Regions from separate parts of the Homo sapiens genome. Here all the other regions are linked to region 1. Evidence: promoter capture Hi-C in human tissues and cell types (Jung and others, 2019). All regions are on one chromosome and are shown on one strand. Each heading gives the region's core, a stretch centred on a gene start or on the middle of the fragment in contact. The rest is flanking DNA. Distances are from core to core; before and after follow the strand shown. Region 1 holds the start of EIF2S3 (eukaryotic translation initiation factor 2 subunit gamma). Region 2 overlaps KLHL15 (kelch like family member 15). Region 3 holds the start of LOC124905261 (a long non-coding RNA gene).

Region 1 (2,863 bases), core at 197-2,696:
GTATAGTCTTAGCATAGGTTGTTCGGAGGTTAGGTTATGCTCCAAGGTCACCTCAACCAAAATTTTTAATGCAGGGGCAGTAGTTCAAGGCCTGTAGGCTTATTTGGGCTTTGTTTGCATTAATAAATTAAAGCTCCAGACTGTAATACTGTAACTTTAATAGCCTCATGGTGGAGTCTTACTTTTTAACTAGGTTAAAAACTAGTCTTACTTTTTAACTTACTTCTGTACTTTTTAACTTACTTTCGTACAAACTGTGCTGTTTGTACAAACTCAAAATGTCCAAAATTTACACTCAGTCAACGTAACTTCTCCTCTAAAGTTCTAGGTGCCAATTAAGAAAAAAAACCTTCTATTTAATCACAGCTTGTACATCAAATAAAACTTTCATAAATTCTGCCCTTGAAATAATCCTGTGTGTCAAGTACAGCCACATTTTTCACCTCTTCCTTAAACTTCTGCTACATATGACTACATACTGCCTTATGCTATTAAACTTTTCTTATGTCTCCATTTTTTCTTCTTACCGAGTCTGTAAGCTACATGTGGGCAGCATTCTTTGTGCTCCCCCTGCACCGCAAATGTAGCAGATGCTTTATTCACAAGGACTCAGTATCTATTTCTTGAATATCTGAATCCTCATACTATTCAAGTAATCACACAAAAAGTGAGGTTAAAATTAATTGTTGGAGACCAAGGTTAGGTCTCTTAAGTTACTCTTACCTATGTTAATTGTGGCTTGTCTGCTGATAACTTCGTGTGAAAGTGGCGTCAACTTGGTAACATCCTGCAATGAAATATATTTTAAAACACTGCACGTAAAACAAATGAGAACTTTTCCTTTGACTTTACGTTTGCTATCTACATCTTGCCACCATCTGCACAGCTTTCCACTACTTCTAAAGCTCCTTTTCCCTATCAGTAACTTTGTACTCCTATGGCTGGGAAGCTGTTAAGAGCCCTTCATCATTACACAACAGACTACACCTCCACTCAACTATTAGGGGATATCTGGAAGTCAGAGATCCCCCCAATCTTGGGAACATTAGCACTAAAAGTAATGCAGACAGGACACCCCCTTCCCAGACGTTCAGAGGCTGAAACCATGACAATCAACATCAAGACTTTCCAGCCGAACCCTCCAGAAGCTAGAAGTCCCACGACCGTACACGCCTGCGCCCAGATCGTGGACTGGCCTGGGTACAGGCGGCGCGAGCATGGCTTAGGGCGCCCAGTTCCAGGTCTCCCTCCTGACCCAGGCTCCTGACCCATGCTCCCGACACTGACTAGTCCCAATACCACCGGGAGGCTCGGTCACCTCCACTCCTGAGCTCACTCTGCATCCTCCCCAAGCAAAACCTCACCAAGGTGGTGAGATCCTGACGCGAAAGATGCGGCTGCCCTAGAGTCACTCCAGCTTCTCCGCCCGCCATGTTGCCAAAAGAGGAAGGAAATCACCCCGGCTGCCGCCTGATCATCTGCAGGGGTCCTAGTGCGGGGCGGGGAAGCGGAGACGGGAAGGCCGAGTAGGGGCTCAGGATGGCCGGTGCAGCAGCGGCCTCACTGCTTGGACATCTCTCCGCTTGAATCTGCACAGTGCCTGTCGGTAGGCTGAGTGGAAAACACGGTGCGAAGTTGCTGGAGCTATTCGTCGCAGACCTGGTAGATATTTGTGCAGGCAATACTGAGGGCAGCCACCAAACCCCCGCCCCGCCGGCCCGTGCGAGGCGGGTGATGCAACCCGGCGCGCGCGCTGGCCTGGGAGAGACCATTTCCGTTTCCTGTGGAGTTTCCCGAAACCTGGGAATCAGCTAGGGTGTGGGAACAGAGAAGAGGGAGTGTCCTCCCCGCCCTTTTTTTTTTTTTTTTTTGAATACCGATTTCTGTAATTTAATAAAGCGAGATCGGCTCGGGGTCGGCGCCCACCTATGACGGGGCTCTTGGCTGGGAGAAGGCCGCGTGCTGAGCCCCGGCGGGAGGTGGGGCGGGCGCCCCCGCGCGGAAGTTTGGTGAAGGGCTCAGAGGGGCAGGGCTAGCAAAATCAAAGTCCCCAGCTTGTTCCCAGAGAGCGATTTCTAGGGCCCGGGAGGTGGGCCTTGGTGACGTTAGATTGCGTTCCCAGTGAATATAGCTAGGTGTCGTAAGAGCGTCTGAAGTTCGCTGGTTTGTGTGTGTGTGTTTTGTTTTTTTTTTTCTTAAAGAAGCAGATCCAAAAAAACCTCGATTACCGATAAATCGGTATTTTAAAATTTAAAGAATTTTGAGACCTTAACCCACTTTTCGTCGTGTTGAAAAGCAGTTGAGTGATTTGTTTTTCTCCTTGCATTTCTATACAAATTTTATCATAAACAGCTATTTCCTTTTTTGTTTGCAATAAATTTATTTCCATAAAAACTTGTTAGACAGCTATTATGCAAAAGTATAGTAAAGAGAAGTGAAAAGATAATATGAAAGCCACAATGACGAATACTGAGAAGCCAAGCTCACTTTAGAATACTTGTAAGTAGTCATCAAGTTAGCTTATTTAGGAAATAAATATTATGAGGCCGGGCGCGGTGGCTCACGCCTGTAATCCCAGCACTTTGGGAGGCTGAGGCGGGTGGATCACGAGGTCAGGAATTCGAGACCAGCCTGGCCAATATGGTGAAACTCCGTCTCTACTAAAAATACAAAAAAAAAAAAAAATTAGCCGCCCGTGGTGGCGGGCGCCTGTAGTCCCAGCTACTCCGGAGGCTGAGGCAGGAGAATGGCGTGAACCCGGAAGGCGGAGCTTGCCGTGAGCTGAGATCGCGCCAACCGCACTCCAGCCTGGGTGACAGAGCGAGACTCCGTCTCAAAATATATATATATTATAAATGAAAAA
Region 2 (2,863 bases), core at 118-2,617, 59 kb after region 1:
AACTCTCTTGCCCTGAGGGCACCTCTCCCTCACCCCTATTTACCCTGGTCACTTTACTTCTGAAGTTCACTTCTGAAGTTCAGTTCATTTTTGACTTTGCCTGCTTGGAGAGAAGAGGGTGAGTAAATTCTTACTACGATTTATCTTTATTTACCATTTGGTATTGACTATAAATACAGTATGACTGAAAGGATTTATGCTTAGCATGAACTGATTTTTCATAGCTTTATCCTTGGTCATTAACTCAGTTTTTCAGGACAAAGGGATTGATTAAAGGCATATTGCACCTAGCTTTTTTTGTGATGATTTTGTTTTACGTAAATCAATATAAGCTTTAGTTCTGAGCAAGATTTTACAAATAAAGACTTCTCATACCAGGGTACATAGTTTTGCAATATAGCATCTAAAGACTGCTCCATGTTTTACTGAGAATCAAAATTATATCAAATGTAGCTGATACAGGGTTTTTTTGTTTTGTTTTGTTTTTTGAGATGGAGTCTCGCTCTGTCATCCAAGCTGGAGTGCAGCGGTGCGATCTCGGCTCACTGCAACCTCTGCCTCCCGGGATCAAGCGATTCTCCTACCTCAGCCTCCTGAGTAGCTGGAATTACAGGTGCCCCCCACCACGCCCAGCTAATTTTTGTATTTTTAGTAGAGACAGGGTTTCGCCATGTTTGCCAGGCTAGTCTCGAACTCCTGACCTCATGATCCGCTCGCCTGGCCTCCCAAAGTGTTGGGATTACAGGCGTGAGCCACCACGCCCGGCCTGATATGGTTTGTTTCAGCATTAAAGCACCACGATAGTAACTACTTGGGAAGATTGCATCATGGTGGAGAAGAGATGATAAAACTGACAACCAAGACTCAGTCTTGATACCTCCTTGTACTTGTCATTCGAGCGATTAGGTTAGCATTTTTTGGATGTAGAAAGGGCCAGAGAGGTGCCTGTTCACACAGGTAACCTCTTTAATAGGGCCAGGCACCATCTTAAGTTCAGGAATTGCTCCCCCACTTCCACCCCTTCTGATAGATAAACTAATAAAAGGTATTTTGTTTCTTTGATTTAATATAAGCATATTGGATATTTTAAAAATTATTTCGTGGCTGGGTGTGGTGGCTCATGCCTGTAATCCCAGCACTTTGGGAGGCCAAGGCAGGCAGATCACCTGAGGTTAGGAGTTCGAGACCAGCCTTGCTAACATGGTGAAACCCCATTTCTACTAAAAATACAAAAAATTAGCCGGGCATGGTGGCATGTGCCTGTAATCCCAGCTACTCGGGAGACAGGCAGGAGAATCACTTGAACCCAGGAGGTGGAGGTTGCAGTGAGCCAAGATCGCACCATTGTACTCCAGCTTGGGCAACAAGTGAAATCCGTCTCAATTTTTTTTTTCTTTCAAAAAGTGTATCTTAAATTGGCTGGCTAGGCTGGGCACGGTGGCTCATGCCTGTAATCCCAGTACTTCGGAAGGCTGAGGCAGGCAGATCATGATGTCACGAGTTCAAGACCAGCCTGGCCACATGGTATTCAGATTCTTAAGTTTTAAAGGTAATTTGTATATACCGTCTTTAATTTTGAGAGAATTAAAATGTAACTTGCAATATAATTAAAATAGGGATTTCCACAGAGTTTACTACCTTTATTTGATTAAAAAATCTGGAATTAAAAAAAAATGTACTCTAACTGGCTACAGTCTAGAATTATTTTAGGCTTTTAGCCAGCCTTTTTTTTTTTTTTTTTTTTGAGACAGAGTCTCGCTCTGTTGCCCAGGCTGGAGTGCAGTGGCGTGATCTTGGCTCACCACAACCTCCACCTTCCGGGTTCAAGCAATTCTCCTGCCTCAGCCTCCCGAGTAACTGGGACTACAGGCGCACACCAACATGCCCGGATAATTTTTGTATTTTTATTAGAGACTGGGTTTCACTATGATATAACATTTTGACAGTGAATGGAGAAACATGAAATATTTGCCCAGCTGTAATGGCTAGTTATTTCTCCAACTTTATATATTTGTGTGTGTGTATATATGCGTGTGTGTGTGTATGTGTATACATATTTACAGGAACTGTATTCAAAGTTAATCATTTCTCATACTTCATTGTCAGCTATATCATACATGCACACACAATTAAAGTAAAAGATGTTTAGAGGAAATGGACAATTTACATTTTCAGGCTGGGCAAGGTGGCTCATGCTGGTAATCCCAGCACTTTGGGAGGCCGAGGTGGGAAGATCACTTCAGCTCAGGATTTTAAGGCCAGACTGGGTAATATAGTGAGACCCAATCTCTATTTTATTAAATAATCAGTAAATTAAAAAAATTTTTTTTCAGACCACTGAAATTATATATAATTATATGATATATTCAGAATAAGACAAAATGCTTTTCATTATACAGTTTTTTAAAGTATCAAAGCAAGAAAAGTAGTAACATTCTTTCCAAGCTTTAAAACATGACAGCTGTTTAATCCTGTGAAAGGCAAAGGAAAGTAATTCAGAACATGAAAGAAATGTCGTTCTTTCCATACCTCTTTGAGAGTACCTGATACACAGATAAACTGTTATGTGAGAAATGAAGGATGGGAGAAGTGCCTTCTCTATGAAAAGATGAGCCACATACTGTTCTGCAGTTTTCTTATTTAACATTTTGAATATCTGTGTTAGTGCATATGGATCAACCTCACTCTTTTTCACAGCTGCATATGGTATATACCAGAGTGTATCCAACCAATGTCTTATTGATAGGTGATTGGAGTTATCCCAGGTTTTGTGCTCTTACAAACAATAATGCAATGAGCATCCATTCTCTTGACAGTTCTTACTACAGAACTTTTTCTTACACTGGCATAAAATCTCCCTCTT
Region 3 (2,863 bases), core at 143-2,642, 33 kb before region 1:
AGCAAGCCTCTGTCTTGGGAAAAAAATAAAGAAATAAATTTCATGGCCTGGAGCGGTGACTCATGCCTGTAATCCCAGCACTTTGGAGGCTGAGGTGGGCAGATCACCTGAGGTCAAGAGTTTGAGACCAGCCTGGCCAACCTGGTGAAACCCGTCTCTACTAAAAGACATCCCATGTTTATGAATTAGAAGAATCAATATTGTCAAGATGGTACTTCCCTCCAAACTGGATCTAGAAATTTAGTGTGATCCCTAACAAAATTCCAGAAGGTTTGGGTTTTTTTTGTTGGGGGGGGGGGGATTTGACAAGCAGATCCTAAAAGTTATATGGGAATTCAAAGGATTTCAAATAGCCAAAACAGTTCTGAACAAAAAAAGAAGACAAAGCTGAAGGATTTACGTTACCCAATTCCAATTTCAAAACTCCCTGTAAAGTCACAATAATCAAGACAGTGTGGCATATAGATCAATAGAGTAGAATTAAAGAAATTAACTTTTATACTTATGTCAACTGATTTTCAATAAAGATGCCAAGATAATCCAGTGGGGAAAGAATAATCTTTTCAACAAATGCTTTGGGAGAATTAGACATCCATTTAAAAATAAAATTAGGCTGGGTGTGATGGCTCATACCTGTAATCCCAGCAGTTTGAGAGGCTGAGACGAGAGGATCACTTGAGGCCAGGAGTTTGAGATTAGCCTGAGCAACATAGTGAGACCACATCTCTACAAAATAAAACAAAATAAATAAAAATTTAAAAATGAACGTAGACCTTTACCCCACACCATTGAAAAATTAACTTACAATAGAACCAAAACTATAAAACTTCCAGAAGTTATATGCTAAGAAGCACATGAAAAGTGCTCAACATCATTAGTCATTAGGAAAATGCAAATTTAAACCACAACAAGATACCACTATATACCCACTAAAATGGTTATACAGGGCTGGGCGTGGTGGCTTACGCCTGTAATCCCAGCACTTTGGGAGGCCGAGGTGGGCAGATCACGAGGTCAGGAGATCGAGACCATCCTGGCTAACACGGTGAAACCCTGTTTCTACTAAAAATACAAAAAATTAGCCGGACGTGGTGGCAGGCACCTGTAATCCCAGCTACTCAGGAGGCTGAGGCAGGAGAATCGCTTGAACCAGGGAGGCAGAGGTTGCAGTGAGCCAAGATCGTGCCACTGCACTCCAGCCTAGGTGACAGAGCGAGACTCAGTCGCAAAAAAAAAAAAAAGGGTTATACAGGCCTGGCATGGTGGCTCACACCTGTAATCCCAGCACTTTGGGAGGCCAAGGCAGGCGGATCACTTGAGGTCAGGAGTTCGAGACCAGCCTGGCCAACATGGTGAAATCCCGTCTCTACTAAAAATACAAAAATTAGCCAGGCGGGGTGGCAGGCGACTGTAATCCCAGCTACTCCAGAGGCTGAAGCAGAATTGCTTGAACCCAGGAGGCGGAGGTAGCAGTGACCCGAGATTGTGCCACTGCACCCCAACACGGGCAACACAGTGAGACCCTGTCTCAAAAAAAAGGGGGGGTTATACAGTAATCCCCCCTTATCTCCAAGGTTTCAGTTACCTGTGGTAAACCAGTCTGAAAATATTAAATTGAAAATTCCAGAAATAAGCAATTCATAAATTTTGAATTGTGTGCTGTTCTGAATAGCATGATAAAATATCATGCCATCTCACTCTGTCTTGCCTAGGGTGTGAACCATCCCCTTGCGCAGCATATCCATGCTGTACATACTATCTGTGCGTTAATCACCTAGTAGCCATCTTGGTTATCAGATCAAAAAATATAGTATATATAGGATTTGGTACTAGCTACTGTTTCAGGGATTCACTGAGGGTCTTGGGATATATGCCCTGCAGGTAAGGGGGGGCAACTGTAATAAAAAAAATTACCAAGTATTAGAGAGGATATTGAGAAACTGGAACCCTGCTCTATTGTTGATAGGAATATAAAATGGCACAGCCTGGCTGGGCATGGTAACTCATGCCTGTAATCCCAGCACTTTGGGAGGCTGAGGTGGGTGGATCATTTGAGGTCAGGAGTTTGAGACCAGCTTGGCCAACACGGTGAAACCCCGCCTCTGCTAAAAATACAAAAATTCGCTGGGCATGGTGGCGGACACCTGTAGTCCCAGCTACTCAGGAGGCTGAGGCAGGAGAATCGCTTGAACCCGGGAGGCAGAGTTTGCAGTAAGCCAAGATCATGCCACTGCACTGCAGCCTGGGTGACAGAACAAGACTCCGTCCCAAATAAAATAAAATAAAATAAAATAGCACAGCCACTTTGCAAACATTTAGCAGTTTCTAAGTTTAACATAGACTTACCACACAACCCAACATTTCACTCCTAGGAATCTACTTAAAGCAATTAAAACATACAGCCGAGCACAGTGGCTCATGCCTGTAATCCCAGCACTTTGGGAGGCCAAGGCAGGCAGATCACCTGAGGTCGGAAGTCCAAGACCAACCTGGCCAGCATGGTGAAACTTCGTCTCTACTAAAAATACAGAAATTTGTTGGGCATGGTGGCATATGTCCGTAATCCCAGCTACTTGGGAGGCTGAGGCAGGAGAATCACTTGAACCCGGGAGGCGGAGGTTGCAGTGAGCCAATATCGCACCACTGCACTCCAGCCCAGGTGACAGAGTCAGACTGTCTCAAAAAAAAAAAATTTTTTTTTAAGTGGAAGAAGCCAGATGCCAAAAGACGACATATTGTAGAAGGATAAGGGAATTCTCTGGGGTGATGGAAATGTTCTGTATCTTGTTTAGGCTGCAGGATACAAGGGTGTATACAATTATCAAAACTCATCGGCTGGGCACAGTGGCTCACGCCTGTAATC

Evidence for each region. Contacts are between HindIII fragments. The study calls those that stand out against the background at their distance.
Region 2: a contact is called between a fragment that was not itself captured here and the fragment with the promoter of EIF2S3 in region 1, in 3 of the 25 tissues and cell types used here (liver, mesendoderm cells and ovary).
Region 3: a fragment that was not itself captured here is called in contact with the fragment with the promoter of EIF2S3 in region 1 in 1 of the 25 tissues and cell types used here (ovary).

What each region holds. Positions count from the first base shown.
Region 1 is chrX:24,053,539-24,056,401 of GRCh38, reverse strand. It overlaps EIF2S3 (eukaryotic translation initiation factor 2 subunit gamma), which reads right to left and starts at 1,446. Exons shown (of 12, transcript NM_001415.4): 1 at 1,365-1,446; 2 at 724-787. The coding sequence starts at 1,433. RefSeq lists enhancers at 1,188-1,257, 1,278-1,827 and a silencer at 1,888-2,097. The HindIII fragment of the contact is 10,457 bases long and covers 1-2,863 here.
Region 2 is chrX:23,994,288-23,997,150 of GRCh38, reverse strand. All of the region lies in intron 3 of KLHL15 (kelch like family member 15), which reads left to right. Among named protein-coding and RNA genes, the nearest start is that of KLHL15, 31 kb to the left of the region's middle. The HindIII fragment of the contact is 5,387 bases long and covers 1-2,863 here.
Region 3 is chrX:24,086,395-24,089,257 of GRCh38, reverse strand. It overlaps LOC124905261 (a long non-coding RNA gene), which reads right to left and starts at 1,012. Exons shown (of 2, transcript XR_007068415.1): 1 at 634-1,012. The HindIII fragment of the contact is 6,471 bases long and covers 1-2,863 here.